Linked DNA regions of Homo sapiens: regions 1 and 3 are each linked to region 2. Evidence: promoter capture Hi-C in 16 types of primary human blood cells and fetal thymus (Javierre and others, 2016). All regions are on one chromosome and are shown on one strand. Each heading gives the region's core, a stretch centred on a gene start or on the middle of the fragment in contact. The rest is flanking DNA. Distances are from core to core; before and after follow the strand shown.

Region 1 (4,184 bases), core at 151-2,650, 560 kb after region 2:
AGTCAAGGAGTTCATGCTATCAGTGGCATGAAGGATCTGCAATGCATATCCATGTGAACCAGCTGCTTCTCCAAATCTCTAGCTTGCAGCATTTCTAGCTATGTTGTTTTGGTGAAGGCTGGTGATTGGGGGAAATGGGAGATGCCATGGGGCCACAGGATGATGGGAAATGAAGTGTCTCTTTCTCCAAGGCAGCTGAGCTTATTTTAATGGGCAAGGTCAGCAATGAAATGACCAGGAAGAGAAATTGCTGTCATTATGCATCAGTTGCAATCTTATATCAATTATTCCCTGTACCATTCCCTTTGCCACAGGCTGAAGCAAACATGGCCCTAATCAGTTTTACATCTCCGTTTAATTTTATTGGAAAGAAGAGCTGGCAATGCATCACAGAGGCCGGGTGTGACAGAAAAGGTGACCCCCCTGCCAACTTAATGGCACAATACATAACCCTTAATGAAGTTGCTATCTTGTCCCTCTTTTGCTGTCTCAGCCTGGTGATTTGTGATGGCATCATTTTGCTTTGCCCTCTTTTCATTTCAGCTTTGACAAAGTGGATGAAACAATTATCTTCGTTATCAGCCAAAGCAGTAGAAATGTGATAGTTGGGGAATTTTTGCAGGTGGACGGCCTTGGCTGAGGATCAAAACCAATGGGTGAAATGTGCTTAGGAATTTTTTTCCTCTTCTCTTCTTCCTGTGACTATGGGCTCCTGAAGATGGATTGTGTATCCCAATGAGCAGTGCGAGTCCTATATCACTGTGGCAAGAAGTAATTTCAAGAGAAGGGACAGCTGCAGATAGAAGAGAGCTTGGGATTTTGCAGTTTGTTCCTGTTGAGCCCCTTATATTTGTTTTTCCGTGCATGCCCAGGCCAAGTTTTTTCTATTTTTTAGAGTCACGTTGTCATTTTACATCCACCTGCGTGGATAGAACATGCATTTTTCTATATTATAAATGATACCTTGCATTTATTTAGCATAATTAAAAGTTATTTATTTGTTCACTGATACAAACAACATTTATTGGGGGCCTTCTAAATGTTAAAGAAAAGTAGGTGTTGTAGAAGTACAGAGAAGGAACAGCTATGGATTTTATACTCAAGAAATGGAATATTTTCCCTTTGAGAAATGAGACATGAATATAAGTGAATGTATCATGAGATGGAAAGAGATAAGAATAATTAGAGATATAAACAGTGAGCACTGCACTTGTTCAGAGGAAGAAGTTATTTCCAAAATGAGAGAGCTGGACCTTAAAAAGAGGGTAGGATTGGCCGGGCGCGGTGGCTCATGCCTGTAATCCCAGCACTTTGGGAGGCCGAGGCAGGTGGATCACGAGGTCAGGAGATCGAGACCATCCTGGCTGACACTGTGAAACCCCGTATTTTTAGTAGAATACAAAATGGGCTTGGTGGCGGGCGTCTGTAGTCCCAGCTACTCGGGAGGCTGAGGCAGGAGAATGACGTGAACCTGGGAGGCAGAGCTTGCAATGAGCCAAGATTGCGCCACTGCACTGCAGCCTGGGCGACAGAGTGAGACTCCAGCCTGGGCGACAGAGCGAGACTCTGTCTCAAACAAAAAAAACAAACAAACAAAAAAAAGAGGGTAGGTTTAGAACAAATAAAAATGCAAAAGCATTTATATTTACTATTTTGTAGGCAATGAAGATATGTAGATGGATAGCTAGCTATAGAAATAGATTCGGCTTTGGTAGCAGTTTTATGATACTTTGCCAAAATGATATGGGAGTTGGGGGAAAAAGATTGGATGTGCTTTGGGCCAGGGCAATGGTGAATTGTTATTCTAGTTTTCACTCTGAATATCCAACTGAAGGTGAGAATATAGCATATCTTGTTGAGAAAGAATTTTAATTTTACTAGTGACTTCTGATGTACTGTAAGAAAGGGGTCTATGAAGGCTGGGATGAGAGTGTGCTGTGTCTTCCGTTGCTGGGCTTGGCTTGGTTTCCCCCTCCCCTTCTCTCCAGTGTATGGGCCTGAGATGCGTGGTAGGAACTTAGACATTCATGGCAGAGGGCTAGACCTGTGACGTCCTCTGCTGGTGGATATTTATGGGTATGAATACACAAATGCATACTGTAATTGGCTAACATTTTCCCAGTGCTCCATTTTTGTTTTGTTTTGTTTTGTTTTAAGTAGATAAACTTGTAAAATCCTACTCCAAGTATTTCTTTCCATTGTTTTGGACTCAGGAATAATTACAATTAGTTTTTATGAACTTCATAGGTTCTAGGAAGTCCAAAGTTCTATAAAGTCCAAAGATAATTGGTTGGAGGTTCTTTTTTCAATGAGACTCTCATTGCAAATAACACCCAAATGGGGCCTGTGTTATTAATGGGATTTTCAAAATAGTGAACCTTTTTCCCAGTGCATTCCTCTCAGGGCGATGGAGAGCTATAATGTTGACATGGGTAATTGGAGGCTTAAGTATATCCTTCATATAAATCTACATGTAAGTAAATTAAAAAATAAATACATGAGATAAATTGACATATTTGTATATGGAGAAATTATCCCCAGGAATGTCAATATGCAATCTATTTCATCTCTGCCATTGATCTGCTCTTATTTGGGGTATAGAGAGGGAAGAGAATAGAGAAATGGGGCTGTTCTGACCCTGAGTCTATTTTCTAAAAGCAGCATAGTCAATATTAAACTTTTAAACTAGTACATTGACACGATGGTTGTCTAAGTCTACAGTGAAAAATATCAGGGAAGCATTGTGAATGTAAGGGTCACATTCAATATGCAACTGAGATGTAATGGTCAGGCTGTGAGATACACAGAAGGGAGCCTGGGACTGACATTTTTTAATGCTCTTGCTCCCACATTTAATCACTGGTGCATGCTTCCCTCACTTACCTGCCTCACCCCTGCACCCTCCTTTCCCCCAACCCAACCCACTGCCCAGCAAGGGCTCCTGCCCTGCCCAGAAGGGTACATTACATTCATCACTGCCTTTGATGTTAAAACCTGCCTGCAACTTGGTCCCTGATGGGTGCTGTGCAGCATGAAGAGATTAAAATAACTAGAGCAACAGCAACAAAGCACCCAGAGCTGTTTCTCTTTGCATTCTCTTGGTGCAGCATCTGAGAGAAGTGGGAGGTCCATTTTCGCCTGCTCTTCTCTTTATTCCTATTAAGTGGTGAGTTGAAGGGGCTGGGTGACCCAGAATACAACTAGTACATCACGTGCAGCACCATGTGCCCAAGGACCATCCAGAGACTCCCCCTGAGCAGGCAGGGGTGGGCGATGGGATAATCTTTGGGAAAGAAAACAAGACATTTTTTGGCTGGAGTTGGAGAAAAAGGGAGGCGAGAGAGGGGAACCCTGCAGTTACTTCCTTCGATCTCAGTAAATTGGAAAGGTCTTTCCCTGATGCCTGCTGATATTTCCTGATGGAAATTTCTTCCATTGACAGAGATACAGATGGAGTTTACCGACATGGGACTGCAGACACACTCTGGGATAATGAAAAAATGCCCAAGGTAGCCATATGCTCAGTGGCAGTTTGTTAGAAGGAACTCCAGTTGGGTGAATACATAATAGCATTTTTGGCAGCATTGACTAAGGGAGATCCTCTGTACTTCCATGTCTTTTTGCATTTTTTGGTCTAATTTATGTGGATTTTGAAGTTGCAGTCCTGTTTATTAACATTCATTATGAGGTGCTCTTTTCTCCAATCATGAAATTTATTTTCAAGAGATCAGAGTGACCTGAGGAAAGTGTAAAATTGTGGAACAGATTCTATCTTCTCCTTCACTTCCTTAAAACCTCAATTGTGACCTTTATTTTATTTGAATAACTGTCTTATAATTAACAATGGTGCTATTAATGATGATGATGATGTTACAATGTTATTATTGTTATTATCATCATAACAGTTTCCTTGTATTAAGCAATTATAGCCTAATCTTAGAAGTTAGTATCCTTGTTGCCCAATTGTGGAAACTGGAAATCTTCAAGGTTTTTGCCCAAGGCAGCACAAGTAGTACCTATCAGATTTGGGATTAGAGTCCAAGTCAGCCTTGTTTCAAAGCTTCCGGGATTCCAGCTTTCCAGAATACAAGTATGCCTCAATTTGAGGGACAGGAATGGATGACAAGAATAAGTATTTGCTTGTAAAACATATACCACTCAGAGGTGATTGCATTTCCAGTTTA
Region 2 (4,637 bases), core at 1,705-4,204:
GGGAGGGAGGAGGAGGGAGAGGGAGGAGGGTGAGGGGGCTGGGGTGGAGGAAGAGCTGTAGTTACTGGTATCCCAGCGCCGAGGCTGAAGCTAGTCTCTGTCCATACAGCGCGTATGGCGAATAGTAGGGTCCGGCTGTGGGGAGGGACGGCACGGCCAGGCCCCCCGCTGTGGATAAGTGGCTCTTGCCATAGGGGTGGTACCGGCTTAGGCCCAAAGTGTGTGGATTCCGCAAGGACAGCGACCCGGGGCTGCCGGGGGCGGCGGGCGGGGGGAGGTGCAGATGGCAGGAGGCGGCGGCGGCGGCGGCGGCGGCGGCGCTGCCCAGGCCCGAGGCCCCGGGGTAGGCGGCCAGAAGTTTCTCGGCTCCCGGCAGGGCCGTGTGGGTCCGTAGGTGGCTGAGCAGCTCCTCCGAGGTGGCGAAGCGCTTGTCGCACGGCCCACTGGCTGCCACCCAGTTGCAGCTGTGCGGCAGCGGTTCGTTCTGCAGCATGAAGCCGTAGGTGTAGAGCGGGTGGCCGGGGAGCGCGGCCTGGGCGGCGCTGGACGAGAGCGCGGCGGGCTGCAGCGGGTGCCCGGGGTACACCAGCGGGTAGCCCCCCGCCTTCAGGCTGGGCCCGGCAGGGTCGTGCGCGCTGCAGGTGGAGCAGCTGGAGCCGCCGAGGTGCGAGGCGCCGTGGTAACCTCCCAAGCAATAGGGGTCGCGGCATAATCCCTGCAGGAAGGAGGGCGGGGAGGCCCCGGTGAGCGGGCTGGAGCTGGGGGGCTTGCCCGGCGGCAGGCCCAGGCCCCCAGACAGCTGGCCTCCCACGAGGCCGGACTTGCTAGGATCCAGGCCAGGCACGAACTGAGACGGGTAGCCGGCGTAGGCGCCCACGATGGAGCCGTGGTAGCCAATGCTGGAGGGCGGCAGCGGGAACACCGAGTGGCCCGGCTTGTAGGGAGACACCGGCGCCACGTGGCCGGCCCCCACCAGCGCCGAGGGCGGCTCGGACTTGCGCCCGGAGGCCCCGGACTCGGCGCCACCGTGCGCCCCGGGCTCCCCACCGCCGCCGCGGCTCACGGCTGCCGGCTCCGGGCTGGGCTTGGGCTCCTGGTCTTTCTTGTCCAGCTCCCCGCCGCCAACCCCGCCGCCGTTCTTGCAGTCAGAGTGGTGCGGGGAGCCGCCGCGGGAGCCGCCGGGCGACGACGAGGACGAGGATGCGGAGACCGGCGCTCCATGCGGGGGAAAGGGCGGGCAGGCGGCGCTGGGGACCCTGAAGCCCGCCTTGTCTCCCGGGGACGAGGAGGACGAGGAGGAGGTGGAAGACACCGAGGAGGAGCCGCTGTCTTTGCGGGAGTCGCCGCCGCCGGAGCCCTTGGAGTAGGGCTTGAAGCTGGACTTGTCCTCGGCCGGTGAGTCCCCCAGCTGCTTCAGGGCCGCGGCTGCGGAGGCGGCGCCCGGGGCTGAGCGGCCGGGGTCCTTCTCCGCTCCCAGCCCGTTGGCCGCCGCCGCCACCGAGTTGAGTTTGGAGGAGGGCGGCGGGTCCGGCTTGCCGATCTGCGAGCAGGTCTGAGCCAGCAGCGCCAAGGGGCTCTTCTTGGCGTCCAGCTGTGGGAGACAGAAGCAGGGGGAGGGAGAAGGAGTGAGACTCAGAGGCCTGCGGGGCGAGCGGGGGCGCCCGGGGAGCTGGGCGGCGGCGCCACGGGGCGGGGCGGGCCTGGGGAGAGGGTCTGCGAGCGAGGGCCGGGCCGGGCGCGGCAGCTGGCGGAACTGCGCCCACACTGCCGCTGGGTCCCGGGGTGCGCCGCAGGCCCTGCGGAAGGAGTTCACCCAGGACCCCTGCGGGAGAAGGTGACGTCTCTGGAGTCGGGGCTGTGACTCGCCACTTCCCTCTAATGTCCCCCTCCTCCAGGCCCAGGAAAAAACTTATTCCTTTAGTTTGGGGGAACTTCGCTTGGGACGGGTTTCTGGCGATGGCGCCGCGGGGTAGGAGAGGGGAGCGCGGATTCTAAAGGAGGGGCTGCAGTTGGCGCTCTCTCCGTAGCCCCTCCCTCCCGGGGAGGGCACCCAGGGAAGAGGCAGGAAGAAAGATCCGGGATCGGGAGCGCCAGGGCGCCGTGCGCCCTCACCGGATGGGACAGAGGCGAAGTGGGACCCGGGCAGCCAGGGCTTCAAAGAAAACAGCCCGGCGTGGGGGGCGGGGAAGACCCAGCAGAGACCAACTCCTGGCTGGAAACTGGGGATCAGAGGAAAAGTAAAGGACCCAGAGGGGACTCCAGGAGCAAATCCAATCCGAGAGAAAACACGGAGCTCCGAAGGGCGAGCGTGGAAGGAGACCCTTCCACGGGGAAGCCTGGGGAAGCCCTGGTGGGCTCTGATCCCTCGGTTTTCTTCCCCTCCTCACTCAGCCCGCCAGCGTGACCAGACTTGGGTGTCGCACCGAGCCCCGGGGCGCTGGGAGCTGGGTCAGGGTCCCGGTCGCGGTGGGAGGAATGGGGCCGGCGCCCGGGGGCAGCGGCCGGGGACTGACCTCAATGGGGCTGACGGGAGTGGAGGACAGCGGCTGCAGGTACTCCGGGTGCAGGAGGTGACCGGTGTGAGCGCTCAGCATCTTCAGGACCCTGATCGGGAGCCGGTTCGCCTGGCGCAGGGGGTCCGCCGGTGGCAAGAGGGACACCGCTGCCGGCACCGCCGGCCTCTTCCCGCCGCCGCCGCTGCCGCTGCCGCTGCTTTCGGGTGTCCTTGGGTTAGATCCAGCGGGCGAATCGCTCATTTGGAGGAGGCAGCGCCGCTGGGGGGGCGGGGAGGGCGGGGGAGCACCGGGGAGGCGAGCTCCCGGGGCGGGTGGGCTCGCTCCGCAGCGTCGATCGCGGTGCAGCGGGAGCTGCGCCTCCTCGCCGCCTCCCCTCCTCCACCGACGCCTCCGCCGCCGCCGCCACCGCCGCTGGCCCCGGCTAGCAACACAAAAACCTTCGCCTTCCTCGAGCCGCACGTCAAATAGCCGCGATCGGCAGCCACACTTCAAAGGGATCGCCGCGCCCGCCCAATCGCAGCTCTCGCCGGGACCCCGGGGCGGGGAGAGCGGCGGGCTGAGGCCGGCTCCATCGGTGGGCGGGGAGAGCCTTAAAGGGGCCGCGCCGCGCGCCGCCGCTGCCTCGGTCTCGGCCGCTCCCGGGATTCCTCCCCTCCCCCCGACTGGGCCTTCCTCGCCCTGGGGTCCCCCGCCTGGGACGGGACTTCTCCGGGACCCTGAGCTCTGCGCCCCGTCCTCCTTTCCGGCCGCTCTCTCTCCTCTCTCCCTTCTCACCACTGGGTGGGTGGGGGGTGATGCTGGCGGGGGCTGTAACCCCGCCCGCCGTGTGTGTCCGAGGTGGGGTGGGGTGGGGTGGGGTGGGGTGGGAGGGATCGCACGGCGCGGGCTCTGGGACGCTGGAGTTCAAGCCTCTCCCAGAGGCCGCCTGGGGGCAGGCCTCGCCTCGGGAGCCCGGGTCCTTCTCCAGAGCTGCTCCGGCTCTCCTCGGCCCCGCTCTCCTTCCCCTACTTGGCCTCCCCTTGGTGTGTTCACTTGGAAGCGCCCGAGCCTCGGAGGCACCCACTGTTCTCGGGACGCGGCGTAGGCAGCTCCAACTACTTTGAGCCCGTCTTGTCTGAAGCCTGCAAGTTTGTCTCCCTTCTGGAGTGACATGGTCGGCGACCAAGCGCGGGACCCCAGGCTGTGCGCGCTGTGCCTGCGCCCTGCGTTAGAGGCTCGGTGTCTGGTGTGTTACAGGCTTCTTACCGTGTCCTGCTGAGGGGCGTGAAGTTCCTCACTGTACCGCGCCCAGCTGCTACGAGGAGAGACCGAGATCACGGGCGAGGCGGGTGTCCCTGGAGGGGGATCTCTCTCTAAGCGCTGCTCGGCAACACAACCCCTCCGCCCCCCCATCCTTCTCACTCCGGGGGAAAAAGCACTTGCTTTCCCCAGGCAAATTTCGGGATAAAAACTTTTAATTAAAAATAACAATACCCTTCCCGACTCCCTGCGCCTTTCTGATACAGTGTGCATTGCTAGCTTCGCCCTGGGCAGAGATTTTACGTAGTCATAGTCCTGACATCCAAGTTCCGGATCCGCCGCTTTTCCGGAGGCGAAGTTGGTCCTTTGGGTGCCGAACTCTGGGGAGCCCACTTCTCCGTGCGCTCGGCGGCCAGTGGAGGCGCGCTGGTGTCACTGCCTGGCTCCCAGCACCACTTTTCCAGTCCCGATCCATCACTCCGGTTGTCAGGGCTGTCACTCGGGGCGTATTGCTCTAGGATGGCAGGTTCCCGACTCTGCCGCGCTGACCGACGCCTTGAGATGACCTGAGAACCCAAGATGGGGAGAGGTGATTTCAAAGGAGCTCTTCAAACAGAAAGAAATAGCTATCACGAATCTGTATCTTGCCCAGTAGTAGAAGACAGCAGACCCCACTTCCAGGCAGTATCAGTCATACCCAAAACTAAGTGCACTCCCTGGATCCATACTGTATTTTGGGCAGCACTTATAGAATGCTTAGAAATTACACAAGCTGTAATTACATGTTCCCCAATTTTAATCTTGGTAAAATCATGTTACGCCGAATGGAAAGGGGTACCCTGACTGTGAGATGGATCCCACATTGCAGCAAGAGGGGTGCGG
Region 3 (4,094 bases), core at 798-3,297, 820 kb after region 2:
ACTTTCACTATCAAAACTGGCGTGGTCTTAGGAGCCAAGCATGGGTCTAATATAGGTGGAGAATTCTTACATTCTCATATCTTTAAAGAAAGGGGTGGGGGTTGGGGCCAGGGGAAGGAAAGAAAGAAAGTAATTATTCTTAGTAGGCAAGGACCACATTGCTTCCTGGGGAGAATGAGACAGGGTCTACCTCTCTTATTACTAAAGGTGAGTTCTGCTGCCACTTTGCCACCCCCACAGGATGTAAATTGTTGGGGTTTTTTGTTTGTTTGGTTGGTTAGTTTATTTTTTGAGATGGAATTTCGCTCTTGTTGCCCAGGCTGGAGTGCAATGGTGCAATCTTGGCTCACTACAACCTCCACCTCCCAGGTTCAAGTGATTTTCCTGCCTCAGCCTCCTGGGTAGCTAGGATGACAGGCGTGACGGGGTTTCACCATGTTGGCCAGGCAGGTCTCAAACTCCTGACCTCAGGTGATTCACCCACCTTGGCCTCCCAAAGTGCTGGGATTACAGGCATGAGCTACTGCACCCAGCCCAAGATGTTAATTGAAATAACATTCATCTCTAAGTCCTCTGTCTTACCTACTCAAACTGTTGGTGTTAGCACAAATGCAGAATTTTAATATTAGCAGAAAGCTGCTTTGTGGTGACTCTCCAGACCTTGACTTCAATTATTTTATGGGAAACTCCTGACTCTTGTGTAGTGATAATTGCTAGCATTTATTGAAGGCTTACTACTCAATGCTGGGAACTTCTCTCAAAGTCTTATACTTAATCTTCTCATCATTTCTATGAGATTGTATTATTTATTTTACTGGATGGGGGATCTGAGCCACAGGACAGTAAGTGACTTGCTTATGGTCACAGAGCATGAACATCACAGAGCTGTGATCTGACAATCTACAGTTTACTGCTGGAGCCCCCACCATAGTTACAGGGCGGGGCGGCGTCCCCCTTTATCTCTCTTTCTGAAGCCAAAAAGCTAACATAGCATAGCATGCGATAGGCTTCGAGATGTGGTATTGGATGTACATAGAAGACTCTTATTGGATGTTGCCTAAAATTATACCTCCCCTATACGTTGACACCTGAAATTTGTTAGTTAGGGCTTTGTTCCTTAGCTGAAGTCCCTGATCCATGATGAAAGGGAAGCTGCCCCAGAAGGGTTAATATTTTATTCTTCTGTTTTTGCAAATGAAGTTTTAAATAATAGATGTTGATGAGGACATTTAAATACCTGGGGACTGTGAGCCCCTGAGAAAGATGATGATAAGGTGTTACTCAGAGGGCAAATAACACAAAGTGAAAATCAGTGCGATTTGCCTACTTCACATTTTTTTTTCTTGGAAACTATGCAAGTCATGTCTCAAGGCCTTGAAGAGAGTTTTACTTAGAAACAGTGACTAAGCTTCGCATAACCTTCACTTTGTCTTATAGAGTTGGTCTTTTATATATGACCCTAAACAGACAAGGTCTCATTCCTGCCTTTTAGGAGATTATAAATGAAATGAAGAATAAAAGCATGCAAATAGTAGTTAACTAATGCAAATAAATATATGCACTCAGTAAATGATCAGTCATCCCATAGTAATTTTTATCGCAATGATCTGAGGGCCACTTCCTCATCTTAGCACCCAGCCAAATCAATTTCCATACCCGTAATTCCAGGAGAATTTGTTTTTAGTTTTTTAAAAGACCTGTCCACAGACTCACAAAGATATTTACAAAATGCCTTGTCTCTCCTTTATTATAGTCTGTGAAGCTAGGCAGGATGAGGGAGATGACAGTAACGAAGAGAGATGCTGACTTTTCTATGGTACAATTCTGATGCTTTTAAGAAGCCTGAAGCTATTTTTCTGCTATTTTTAAGCAATAACAATAAAATTTTGTTTGTTAATCTAAAGAATCAGATTATTCAATACATACCTGATGAATTATTGCTCGCTCTCTCTCTCTCTCTATGTATATATATATATATATGGTACTTTGCTAGGATTGTGGCACATTGCTTCCCAAAAATGGGATTTTCACCTATGAATACAAAATAAGAACTAGAAAAGAGGTATTTAGAGGATCTGAAGGAAAATATCTAGTCATCTTTTCAAAATTCTTATTCTTATATTCCCTGCCACCCTAACTCTTTCATCTGTCTTTGGAACTCAGGCTCATTGTGATTAAAAGTATAGTTTTTATATGTATATGTGTATGTATATTTTCAATCCTACCTCTAGATTATCCCTATAATTATATGAGAATATATTTAGTCCTGCTGTCTTCTTTGGTCTTGCTATTGAGACCTGATGAAGATATTTATTAAACTTCATTGCAGACACATAGCCCTGCTAGGGATTCTGGTGGTCCCAAATTATACCATCAATTAAAATGAGAGAAAGCATATTTTAAAGGTTCTAAAATCTCAGGTGGAAAACCATAGAATGGGAAACATAAGTGCCAATGGGACTCTTGGGGAAAGGTAACTCTGAAAGATGAAATACTGGCCATATAGTGTTAAGTGAATGTAGATTTCCAGAACATGATTTGAAATGCTACAGTAAAGGCATCACTCAGTAGGCTTATATGAATGAAAGAACCAGAGAATGCTTTTGATTTACTAGTTATGGGCTACATTACACTCAAATAGGAAAGCCTATGCTTGTCTGGAGGGAAAGTAGTTTTAAAAGCTTAATATAAAATAAGAAGGGATAAAAGGAATTGCTCAGATAATCTCATCTGATCAGTTTCTGTAGAAAGCTCAGATATGACATGAAAAGAGCCATGTACGGTGATTTGTATCCGATCTTCTGCCCCCACTAGGTGGACTCAGAGGCTGGCTCTCAGTAGGAGTTCAGACATCATTGAGGCTAAAAGATGGGGATTCTCTTGCCTGAATAGTTTGGAACACAGAATTCGATAAAGTGTACAGAACTGAGAGTAAAAAGGGAGGAAGGGCTCAGCTTCTTTTCCTGAGACAACAGGGTATGTATGGCAGAGGGGGCATGAAAATAAGAGGTCATAGGGACAGGTGTCTCAGGAGTCATGCGTGAGCATAAATTATGTAGGGCTGGAAATAGATGTGCCAGAAAAGAAACAAACAACTTATCCCAGTTGGATTGAACCTCTTACATCTTTATGGCCAGTGCACTACTTACTAGCAAGCTTCCAGCTTGGCAAAGCCTATCCTGGCAGTCCTTCTGGATGGACTACAGTTTGGTTGGAAATGAAAGACTGCCATAGGATTACTGGAAGGCACTAGAAAATAGCCAAGGAAGGAGCTGGAATTGCCATGGAAAAGAATGTTCTGGAGGGAGAATGGCAAGCTATAGGCCGACTTGGACATGGCAAAGTGACCTTACCAATGGTAACTACTGCATCGTAGATCTTCACTGAAAACCCTGCTGGTATGCTTGTCAGGCTGGTGGTCTATAGATGGTGGTTGTAGACAGTGAATTAAATCTTGCGAGGTCTTGAACTCTGTAACCTCTCCACTAAAATGTGAAAGAAAGTGGTAGCAAAAACGTAGAAGTCTAAGAACCAGAGACATGACGGCAGAGGGTGACAGGAAATACAATGACAACAACAGCATGAAACATTTTTCACTTGCTGTATTTTCACTATGTATATTAGGCACTACATAAGAATTGAATCAGTCCTGTCTCAACCAATCCTCACAACATTTCAATTAGATTCTAATATCATCTCATTTTACAGATGAGAAAACTGAAGCTTATAAGCTAAGAAGATGGCGATCTGGAGCTCATGTCTGCCATAGGTGCTATTGCTCATGGCTAATATTTGTGGACCACTTATCCTTGAAAGAACTAAGGCTGACTTGGACATTGGCAAAGAGAGAAAAAAATAGCATTTACGGTCCCTGGTATCTGTAAAAGAACATAAAGAGGATGGAGATGAAGTTGATATTATAAATGTGATCTCATTCATAGATACCATTAAGACATGGTGAGAAAGGATGTTATATGGAAAAGTATTTAGATTTCAATATGGGCCATAAGTTGACTTAAGCAGACCCAATAGGGAGAATTTCCAGGGAAAGTGTGATAGGGCCAAACAAAACAAGCATTTCTATTAAAAACGTT

Evidence for each region. The method cuts DNA at HindIII sites, captures the fragments that hold promoters and counts their contacts. A CHiCAGO score of 5 or more calls a contact.
Region 1: a contact is called between a fragment that was not itself captured here and the fragment with the promoter of ZNF703 in region 2, in 1 of 17 cell types (endothelial precursors). The highest score is 5.0, in endothelial precursors.
Region 3: a contact is called between a fragment that was not itself captured here and the fragment with the promoter of ZNF703 in region 2, in 11 of 17 cell types (megakaryocytes, naive CD4 T cells, naive CD8 T cells and 8 more). The highest score is 9.4, in megakaryocytes.

What each region holds. Positions count from the first base shown.
Region 1 is chr8:37,136,905-37,141,088 of GRCh38, reverse strand. No RefSeq gene overlaps it. Among named protein-coding and RNA genes, the nearest start is that of KCNU1, 350 kb to the right of the region's middle. The HindIII fragment of the contact is 5,325 bases long and covers 1-4,062 here.
Region 2 is chr8:37,694,099-37,698,735 of GRCh38, reverse strand. ZNF703 (zinc finger protein 703) reads right to left here and starts at 2,954. Exons shown (of 2, transcript NM_025069.3): 1 at 2,514-2,954; 2 at 1-1,591. The coding sequence starts at 2,756. The coding sequence ends at 62. It overlaps LOC124901932 (a long non-coding RNA gene), which reads right to left. Exons shown (of 2, transcript XR_007060887.1): 2 at 3,953-4,321. It overlaps LOC124901933 (a long non-coding RNA gene), which reads left to right and starts at 3,055. Exons shown (of 2, transcript XR_007060888.1): 1 at 3,055-3,296; 2 at 3,753-3,991. RefSeq lists enhancers at 2,023-2,565, 2,566-3,109 and silencers at 2,844-2,943, 2,994-3,343, 4,131-4,315. The HindIII fragment of the contact is 16,475 bases long and covers 1-4,637 here.
Region 3 is chr8:36,869,277-36,873,370 of GRCh38, reverse strand. All of the region lies in intron 19 of KCNU1 (potassium calcium-activated channel subfamily U member 1), which reads right to left. Among named protein-coding and RNA genes, the nearest start is that of KCNU1, 87 kb to the right of the region's middle. The HindIII fragment of the contact is 1,273 bases long and covers 1,411-2,683 here.